Linked DNA regions of Homo sapiens: region 1 is linked to region 2. The links are contacts of gene promoters, found by promoter capture Hi-C in human tissues and cell types (Jung and others, 2019). All regions are on one chromosome and are shown on one strand. The core of a region is centred on a gene start or on the middle of the fragment in contact, and the rest is flanking DNA. Distances in the headings are between cores, read along the strand shown.

Evidence for each region. The method cuts DNA at HindIII sites, captures the fragments that hold promoters and counts their contacts. A contact is called where the count stands out against the background at its distance.
Region 1: a fragment that was not itself captured here is called in contact with the fragment with the promoter of LBH in region 2 in 1 of the 25 tissues and cell types used here (lymphoblastoid cells).

What each region holds. Positions count from the first base shown.
Region 1 is chr2:30,798,508-30,802,798 of GRCh38, reverse strand. All of the region lies in intron 1 of CAPN13 (calpain 13), which reads left to right. Among named protein-coding and RNA genes, the nearest start is that of CAPN13, 6.8 kb to the left of the region's middle. RefSeq lists an enhancer at 4,111-4,291. The HindIII fragment of the contact is 3,194 bases long and covers 1-2,847 here.
Region 2 is chr2:30,229,990-30,234,356 of GRCh38, reverse strand. LBH (LBH regulator of Wnt signaling pathway) reads right to left here and starts at 2,823. Exons shown (of 3, transcript NM_030915.4): 1 at 2,593-2,823. The coding sequence starts at 2,618. RefSeq lists silencers at 1,824-1,883, 1,894-2,093, 2,484-2,573, 2,774-3,323 and enhancers at 3,127-3,641, 3,642-4,157. The HindIII fragment of the contact is 5,872 bases long and covers 1-4,367 here.

The sequences.
Region 1 (4,291 bases), core at 1-2,500, 570 kb before region 2:
CTCTTTTCAGGCAGAGGCTCCCAGGCCTGTACCCCCTGCCCCAGGTCCTGTCCTTCCCACCATCTCCCCAGTGGACCCTGCAAGAGCTGGTTTTTAGGCCATTTCTGCTCCTCTCTCTTTCCTCTGTCTTTCCTTCTTGCCCTCAGTCCTTGCTTTCAGAAGCTCTGGCTCTCCCCGTTTCTTAGGGCTGGAGAGGGAAAGAATGACAGAAGGAACAAGGGAAACCTCAGAGGTCTAACCACCACCCCCCCCCCCCAGCCTGCCTTTCTCTGCTTCACTCACTCACTTAGACACGTTTACATTCACATTTACACACACACACACACACACACACATACACACACACACATTCTAAGCTCCTTCTTTTTCATGTTGCTTTTTGACATATTTAATATAGAAAGCTCTTGTTTTTGAAAAACATTTCTCCTCCCACTGGTCCATATCCTGACCCCAGAGATGGGACCCCATCTGCTTGGATGGAAGCTTGCTCCAGAACAAGAAGGTTGACCTGGGCCTTCCTGGGGACCTTCATCGTGTGTCTCCGAGCACCTGGTCAGAAAAGGGAATGGCTCCCTTAGTCAACGTGCTTGGCCACTGGTACTACTGGATTTGTCTCCAAACCCCCGCCACCCCCCAACCAGAGCTCCCAGTCCAGGGCTCAGCCTACTCGCCTCTGCAGCCTCCACAGGTCAGGCCTGAGAGACCCAGAATGGCCAGGCACAGACTGGGATGCCCAGGTAACCGGGCCAGGGGTCCATCAGCCGGCTCTACTGTCCTTTCTCCGCTGTGTTGTGGCTAGACGCAGCGCAGGGGGCGGTGGTCTTTAAAAAGCTCCATCTGAGAGTCACATCATCTGCATTCCTTGTTTTCCAGCCATGCCTTGAGAATTCACATCTTGAGGGATAAGAAAACAGGGTAATATTTGGACACAATTCTGGCACCGTCAATGCTGGGCTGGCGTGAGAATCCCTTCCCCTGGTGGACTTTGTCCTCCCTGCGTCTGGGCCATCTCATTCCTCCCACTCTCTTCCTCAGTCTCCATCCCTGCTGACTGGCTGTCCCTGGCTCCCTTTCTGTCGCCCAGCCAGTCTTTGACTTTCTCTTTGTGTGGTTGCTCTGTCTTGGCCTCTGCCTCATCCATTTTTCCATTTTCTTTTTCTTCTTCTTCTTCTTTTTTTTTTTTTTTTTTTTTTTAAGACTGAGTCTCCCTCTATCACCCAGGCTGGAGTGCAATGGCATGATCTTGGCTCACTGCAACCTCCGCCTCCCGGGTTCAAGCGATTCTCCAGCCTCAGCCTCCTGAGTAGCTGGGATTACAGGTGCACACCACCACGCCCAGCTAGTTTTTGTATTGTTAGGGTTTCACCATGTTGGGCAGGCTGGTCTCAAACTCCTGACCTCGTGATCCACCCGCCTCACCCTCCCAAAGTGCTGGGATTACAATCATGAGCCACCGTGCCCAGTACTCATCCATTTTCTGTTTGTCTTTGTCCATTTAAATGAAAAAGCCTAAGAAGATAGGCCCAGGGAAATCCTTTAAGAATAAACGGATTATATAAATGTGGCCTCAACTTCCAAAGAGCCTTAAAAATAAGAAAGGAAAAAGACCCCAAACCTAGCCTTCTGCGGTTCAAGCCTTTGGGAAGTGAGCAGGCCCGGAGCCGAGGGTCTGCCTGGGGAGTACTCGTCTGAAACAGCGGCTCTCAAGACCCTGCATTTTAACTTGGTACATGGCAGGCCCCAACTTCCTAAGTCTACTAAATTTGTATTTGTTTCAGAAAAAATTTGAATTAGCTAAATGAGAAGTGCATCTCTCCTTCAAGGATGAAAAAAGAAAAAAACCATGCTGGGAAATCTGAGCACAGATTAAATATTACACAGTGTTTCTGAGACTCATGTAGTTTTAGTTCCCAGAAAAAAGAATGCTCTACCTCATCCTTAGAATATAGTTGAGTCTACTCAACCCTATCATAATTGAATGACACCTATCAAATGCTCTAGGGAGGGGAAAGGAGATTTCCATGCAAAGACAAGTTTCTTTTTTGTGTGTATTGGCACAAACCTAAACTTAATTGAAAGAAATAATACATTCTGTGGGTTCCTATTTTATTGTCTAACAGTATCATTGAGGCTACATAAGAACCTGTTGTCTCAGTTCCAGAAATACAGAATCTTACAGTAGAAAAGCACTTAGAAGTGCGAGACCAACCTCCTTAGTGTTCCAAGTGGGGAGACCGAGGCTAGGGGAGGGAGCGACGTGCCCAAGGCCCATAGAGTTTAGTGGAGCTTCACAGATTCTTTCTGTCAGGCAAACCTTCTCTTGGTTACCCCCAGGGTCTCCTGAGAAGAACCCATCAGCAGAGCTCTCTGAGCTATGATTCAGGAAGAGGCTGGGTCCACACAGCAAGGGCAGTAAGGAGAGAAGAGGCTGGGGTTGCCCTGCCTGTGGAACCTCAGTAAGTCGCTTCTGCTTTCTGCCTCTCTTGCGCCAAGCTGTTGATCTCTTTGGCAGTCAGCTCCAGTGCTGAACCCAGAGTCACTGGCAGGCAATAGAGAGGTCTATTCTGAGCACTTACTTCTCTGGTACCTGTTCCAGGTCTACGTAGTTTTCTTTCTTTCTTTCTTTCTTTCTTTCTTTCTTTCTTTCTTTCTTTCTTTCTTTCTTTCTTTCTTTCTTTCTTTTCTTTCTTTTCTTTCTTTCTTTTCTTTCTTTCTTTCTTTTTTTGAGATGGAGTCTCACTCTGTAGCCCAGGCTGGAGTGCAATGGCGCAATCTCGGCTCACTGCAAGCTCTGCCTCCCGGGTTCATGCCATTCTCCTGCCTCAGTCTCCCGAGTAGCTGGGACTGCAGGCGTCTGCCACCACACCTGGCTAATTTTTTTGTATTTTTAGTAGAGACGGGGTTTCACCGTGTTAGCTAGGATGGTCTCGATCTCCTGACCTCGTGATCCGCCCACCTTGGCCTCCCAAAGTGCTGGGATTACAGGAGTGAACCACTGCGCCTGGCCCTGTGTAGCTTTCTACATCTGAAGACACGAGAGAGGTTTCCTTCATTTCATTTCATGGCCTCTTCCCTGGCCCTCGGTGGATCAGAGGTTATCTCAGAGGATGAGAAACACTAGCTTACCTCTGCCCCTCTCAGCCCTGATTAGACACAAAGTAGGATGCCCTCGGCAGGGACGGAGGCATGCTTTGCTCACAGGCCAGATCACCCCAGCTTTGAAGCTGGGGGCAGGACAGGAGTCAAGCCCAAGCGCTGCCTAAACTTCTTCTGTTTCACCTTGAGCCCCACTTTCCCCTTCTGCAAAGTGAGCCCTGCATAGTCTTCCTCTGAGGTCTGCCTTTCTGGGGGCCACTAATCCCACCATGGTATTCAGGCCACACATGCATGGAGACTTACTGAGATGATTCTGAAGTGCAGAGTGGCTCAGGGACAGCACTGGTCTGGCGGTTAAGTTCCATCTTCAAACCCGATGTTTAAGCTCATTCTCACACTTACACCATCTCACATAAGCTCTTTGAGAAATACTCACATGTTCTTCCAACTTGCTGTAGATTTGTATACACACAAAATTTTCTGTCTTCTTCCCTCTCTCTCCCACCCACTCTCTCTTCCTCCTCCTTCCTTTTCCCCCTCTCTGTCTTCCTTCCTTCTTCTTACCCCCTTCTTTTGCTCTCTTCTCTCTCTCTGCTTCATTCTCTCTCTGTCTCCCTCTCTCTCCTCAAAGCCCTGAGGTATGCCAAGGTGGTATATAGCTGAAAGTGGTTTGCACATCTTTTTCCCACCAGAGAGCAGTTAAGTGCCTATTTTCTCCACTCGGGTAGCTAAATTATTCTCGATGTGTTAAACAGTGTAATTAAACACACACATACACACACAAGTGCACAGGCCCCTTCCCCCACCCTTCCTTGTTCCTTGTCAGCAGAGAGAGTGTCAGCCCCAGCCTTCAAGCTCTGTTAGTTTTAATTTGAGTTGTGGAATTAGTAATGGGTTTTGCTGGAACACTGTTGTGGGAAATAGATTGCTCCTCGTGCAGGGTTTGGGCACCATTTCAAATGAGTATTTGTTAAGGGGAAAACCGTCCCCTGTCGTGTTCTGCTACATTACATCAGATTTATTTCCATTGTTCTGAAAAACACCAGCCAGGAGAGGGCCGCAGGCAGCACTCCTGGGCAGGAAACCATTGAATGCAGCTTCCTGTTTCTTAGCTGATTGAAAACAAAATGCAAACAAAATTACCCTTTGTTGCTGGGATATGCTAGGAGCATCCTGCGGACAGGGACACCAGAGC
Region 2 (4,367 bases), core at 1,574-4,073:
TTCCTAACTCTTCATGCATTCACTGCTGTGGGATCAGGGGACTGTCTGGAGACAGGAAGAGAGGTGTTCAAAACAGAACTTGCAGCAAAACAAGCTCACACCCTGAGGAAGCGCCTTGCAAGCCCACAGCCCCAGGGCTCAGCCGCAACAGACAAAGCCCATTGTCTGCAGACCTCTCTGGCAAACCTCTTCCCTCCTCTCCTGTACTCTAGTCCCCACTGGCACAGAGGGACCCTGAATGTTTCTTTAAATGACAGAACCAGAGAAACCAAAACAGTAGGTAGCTGAGTCCATCTGTCTATATTAAAACCAATTCAACCACATCTCCCTTCACTTCTCCAACTAAGAATAAAAATAATCCTCACATGAACTTTCCAAAGGGGAACTCTATATATTATTAATACACAATAACAATAACAGGTCAACTGGAGGGAAACAAAGTCCAATCATACAGCTTTCCTAAATTTGTCTCTCTGGTGCTCCTTTTGGCAAAATGTTCCACTTAAAGCCCCAAGGGGTCAGCTTTTCTGCAAGTTTCACATCTGCCATCCATCCCCTTTCTCTAGCCCCAGACACAGCAGCTGCATGCTCACAGCTTGAAAAACATCCCCTGGATTAAAAGCCTTAAGGATACCCGACTCTGACTGCAAAGGAAATTTCCAGAGGGGCCAAGCTGGCCCACCAATGGCTGACATGTGAAAGTGCCTTGTACTCTCTAAGCAGGATACGAATATTCCCTTATCCTTGCACAAACTCTGGGCACATACAGGATCCCGTGCACATAATGCTGAACATAAGCACCAAATACAGGTACCTGCTACACAGCACCCAATGCTTTCCACCATCGTGCCTGTGCACATGGTTTAAAACAAAAATATGGGGGAGTCTTTTGAGGGACAGTATCTAAGGAAACAGGGGTACCAGATGCCTCTTCAATTGTATGGTTACTACATAGATAAGAAATGACACTGGATTTAGAAACAGAAGCAATAGGTTCTAGGCTCTGCCCCTCAAGAACTGTGTGATCTTGAACAGGTCCTGTAACTTCTCTGAGCCACAAGTGTCCTGTTTGTCTGTTACTCTGATGCTAATAGTGCATACCTCACAGTTAGGTTAAGGGCTAATGTCTGCATAAAAGCATTGCAAGCTGCAAAGTGCTAATCGATGAAATAAACTTAAACCTTAATTTCTCATAATATTCTTAATGGGTCCAAACACCCACCTTGGCAAATTTTGAGCAGCCAAAGGCACAAAGCCTCCAACAGCCTTCAAAGCTTCACCTATAATAAGGCACCTAGCTGCTCACACACCACGGGAGAGGCAAGGGAGGGGCACCCACAAGAAGGGTACACAAGCCTCGGGGTGGGGGAACTTGAACTGTTGAGAGAGGGAAGTTCAGTCCCCTCTCTAAACACTGCCAGGCTGGGACGGATGGGGGCAGGGAGACTAACAGAAGATGCGGGGCTTTGCGGCAAGTTTAGGTTCGGGAGCTGGGCCCTGCAAAGGCAGTTTCCTCCCGGGTCTTGGAAAGGCTGCTGGCGACCTCCAAAGAAAGGAGCCAGAAGAGCGCACGCAGGGTGAAGAGTCTGACGTAGGGGCGGCTCTTCCTCGCTCGGGGCTGTGGCGCCGGCCCGAAAAGTTGAAGCGAGAAGCATGAACTTTCCGCTTCTTGGGCCAGGCCGGACCCCGCCGCGGCTTGCGCCGGTTTTCCCTTCGCTCAGCGCCTGCCGGAGACTCGGGGCCGAGCTCCCCACGTCCGCACCTGAGAGCGCGCTCCGGGGCTGCCGGCGCTCGCCCCCGGCCGCTTCTCCTCTAACCCAGAGCAGGAAGGAAGAAACTGCCAGCAAGGAAGTCCCAGCAGTCAGGGGCCTGCCTCTCTCTGCATCCCTCCCGGCTCCGATCCCCAGTCCGGGGCAAACCTCCGACGCCCCGCGCCCGGCCCGGGCTCCTTCCCCTTCAGCACGGCGAAGGCGGCTCCTCCCAGTCCCGGCCCCCACCAATGTGCGTCGGTTTTTAGGGGCGGTGGAGAGGGCAGGGGTTGAGAGGCTGCAGCGCGTGCCCTGCTGCTTGTGGCTTTAGTGGGGTTACGTGTGGGGAGAGCGTTTCCCGCCCCCCACCCCCCCGGAGCTCTGCAAACCCTGCGGCCGCACCAGCTCAGCCCCGCTGCTGCCGGCCTCGACGTTGAGACTTGCATGCAAACAAAAAGAAAAAGAGGAGGGGCCCGGGAAGAGCAGGAGCCCCCCTGCGCCAAGTGGGGCGCGCGCCTCCTGCAGCTCTCCGCATAGGGTGGTTTCATTGGGGGGGATTCACACGTGACCCCTGGCTCCCCCGCCAACCAATACAAACCCTCCGGCCGTCACTTAGGTGAGGGCTCCGAGTTCACGTCCTTTGTCTGGATGTTCTCAGCACCCCCTCCCCCCACCCCCACCTTTGCAACCTTGACGTTGACTCCTGCACGGGCTCGGGCGGCGGGTTAGCGCTGAGCGCCCGCGCCGCCGGCTGCCCTCGCACCCGGAGCCGGCACGAAGCAGGCGCCCGGGCCCGCAGCCACCGCCGCGAGACAGACGCCCGCCGCAGGCGCAGGGTACTCACCAGTGAATGGGGAAATATATAGACATGAAGTCCTAGGGCAGGCTGACACACGCCCCTGTGATTTAAAAACGGTCCCTGCGTCCCGAGTGAGGATGACACGGGCGCAGACGGGCACGGCAGGCGGCCGAGTGCGGACACCGGGCGCTCGCCGTCCGCCTTCCCAGGACAGCCCCACGGCTAGCGACGTCGGCAAGGTGGACACAACTCCCCGCTCTCCACTGAGCACTCAGCCCCACAAAGAGCCCGGGAAGCCGTATTTATAGGGGCGGGGGCGGGGCTTGGCCCCGAGAGGCCCCGCCCTCCCTCGCCCACTCCTGGAATAACGTCACCAAAATCATGAATGGCTTCAGCGCTCGCAGCTCCGGCGGGCGGCGGCTCGGGGGCGCGCTCGGCTCTGCTCCCGGGGCCGTGGTTCGCTGCGGCTGCGAGCCCGGCCCCCTCCCGCCGCTCTCCCACGCGCACACGCGCTCACTCGCACCGGCCCGGACTCCGCGTCCGCGCCGCTTCCCGCTCACAGCCCCCTCCACGCACACCCCGAACTCCAGCGCGGCGGAGGTGGGCGCAAGGAGGGCGCGGGGGCCGCTCGGGACATGACAGCTCGGCGGCTGCTCTGCGCCGGGGTAGGGCACCCGCCACTCCTCCACCCCAGCCGCCCGGCGCCAGCGCCCTCCTTCCCATCCACTGGCTGTCCCCAGCCCACCTCGGACCCCTCTGAAGCGTTTGTTCCCCATACTAGGCCTCTCTCTGGAATCCTCGCCCGCAGCCTTGCGATCAGCGAGGGGAAACAAGAGCATGGTTAAAGAAGAAGCGGTGGGAAGGTGGCAGAGACGCGGAGCCGGGGGACCGAGTGCCCACGGGGCGCGTTGGCTTGCGAAGGGCTGGTCTGCAGCCCTGAGTTCCGTGGAAGGTTTTATTTGTGGGAGCAAGGATGTGGTGTCGTCCTGGGTAGGATTTTTCCATTGGAGACACACATACGCCCGGTCTGCAGCGGGGGCAGAAGGTGTGGGCGGGCGGTGTGCACGCCGCCCCCCATCCTTGACTCCCACGTCTTCTCCGAGGAGTCGCTCATGACAGCAGAAACAAAGAGCTTTAGCCGAACGCCTCCCACACTGCCCAGGAATTGCAGCTCTGGGCGTCTGTCCAGGCAGTCAAAGCTGCGCAGCCCCCCAGAGCCACATGATGGGAGTCTCACTCGGGACCCAGCGCTGCCGCTCTGTGGCCTCCGCTTCAATCACGCCTGTAAAATGGCTTTAGAACCCTCACCTACCTGTGTATAGGGGCTGAGGAAAGGGGGCGCGGGGAGATCAAAAACTAAGCAAAATTAAATTGGCTTTGAAGTGAATCAGCTTTTTAAAAGAAAGGCAGTGAGTGTATTGAATCCGTATATATGTACTTGAAAGTGGAAACGCATAGCTTATCTCAGGCAAAAGGATGACAGAATTAATGGCGAAGGTTCGACAGGGGTAGGACCCTGAAGGAAGCCGTGAGAGAAGACCCTCATAATTTTCATCAGTCCCCGCAAAACCAGCCCAAACAAAAATTATAAGAATTGATGAGAATAATTTATTTAAAAATAACTGGGCTATTTTCAATCACTTATATGCTTATATGTACAACCTGAGTTAAAATAGTGTGCTTCCTATGAAAACACAGCTTCATGACAAGCCCCTGGCTGCCCCCTCCAACCAGAGAAATTCCCCCACCTCCCAAGCTAAACGCATTCTCTTCCTCTGGGGGTGTTGCCTGATGGAGGGGCTAAACGGGAGATGCTGCAG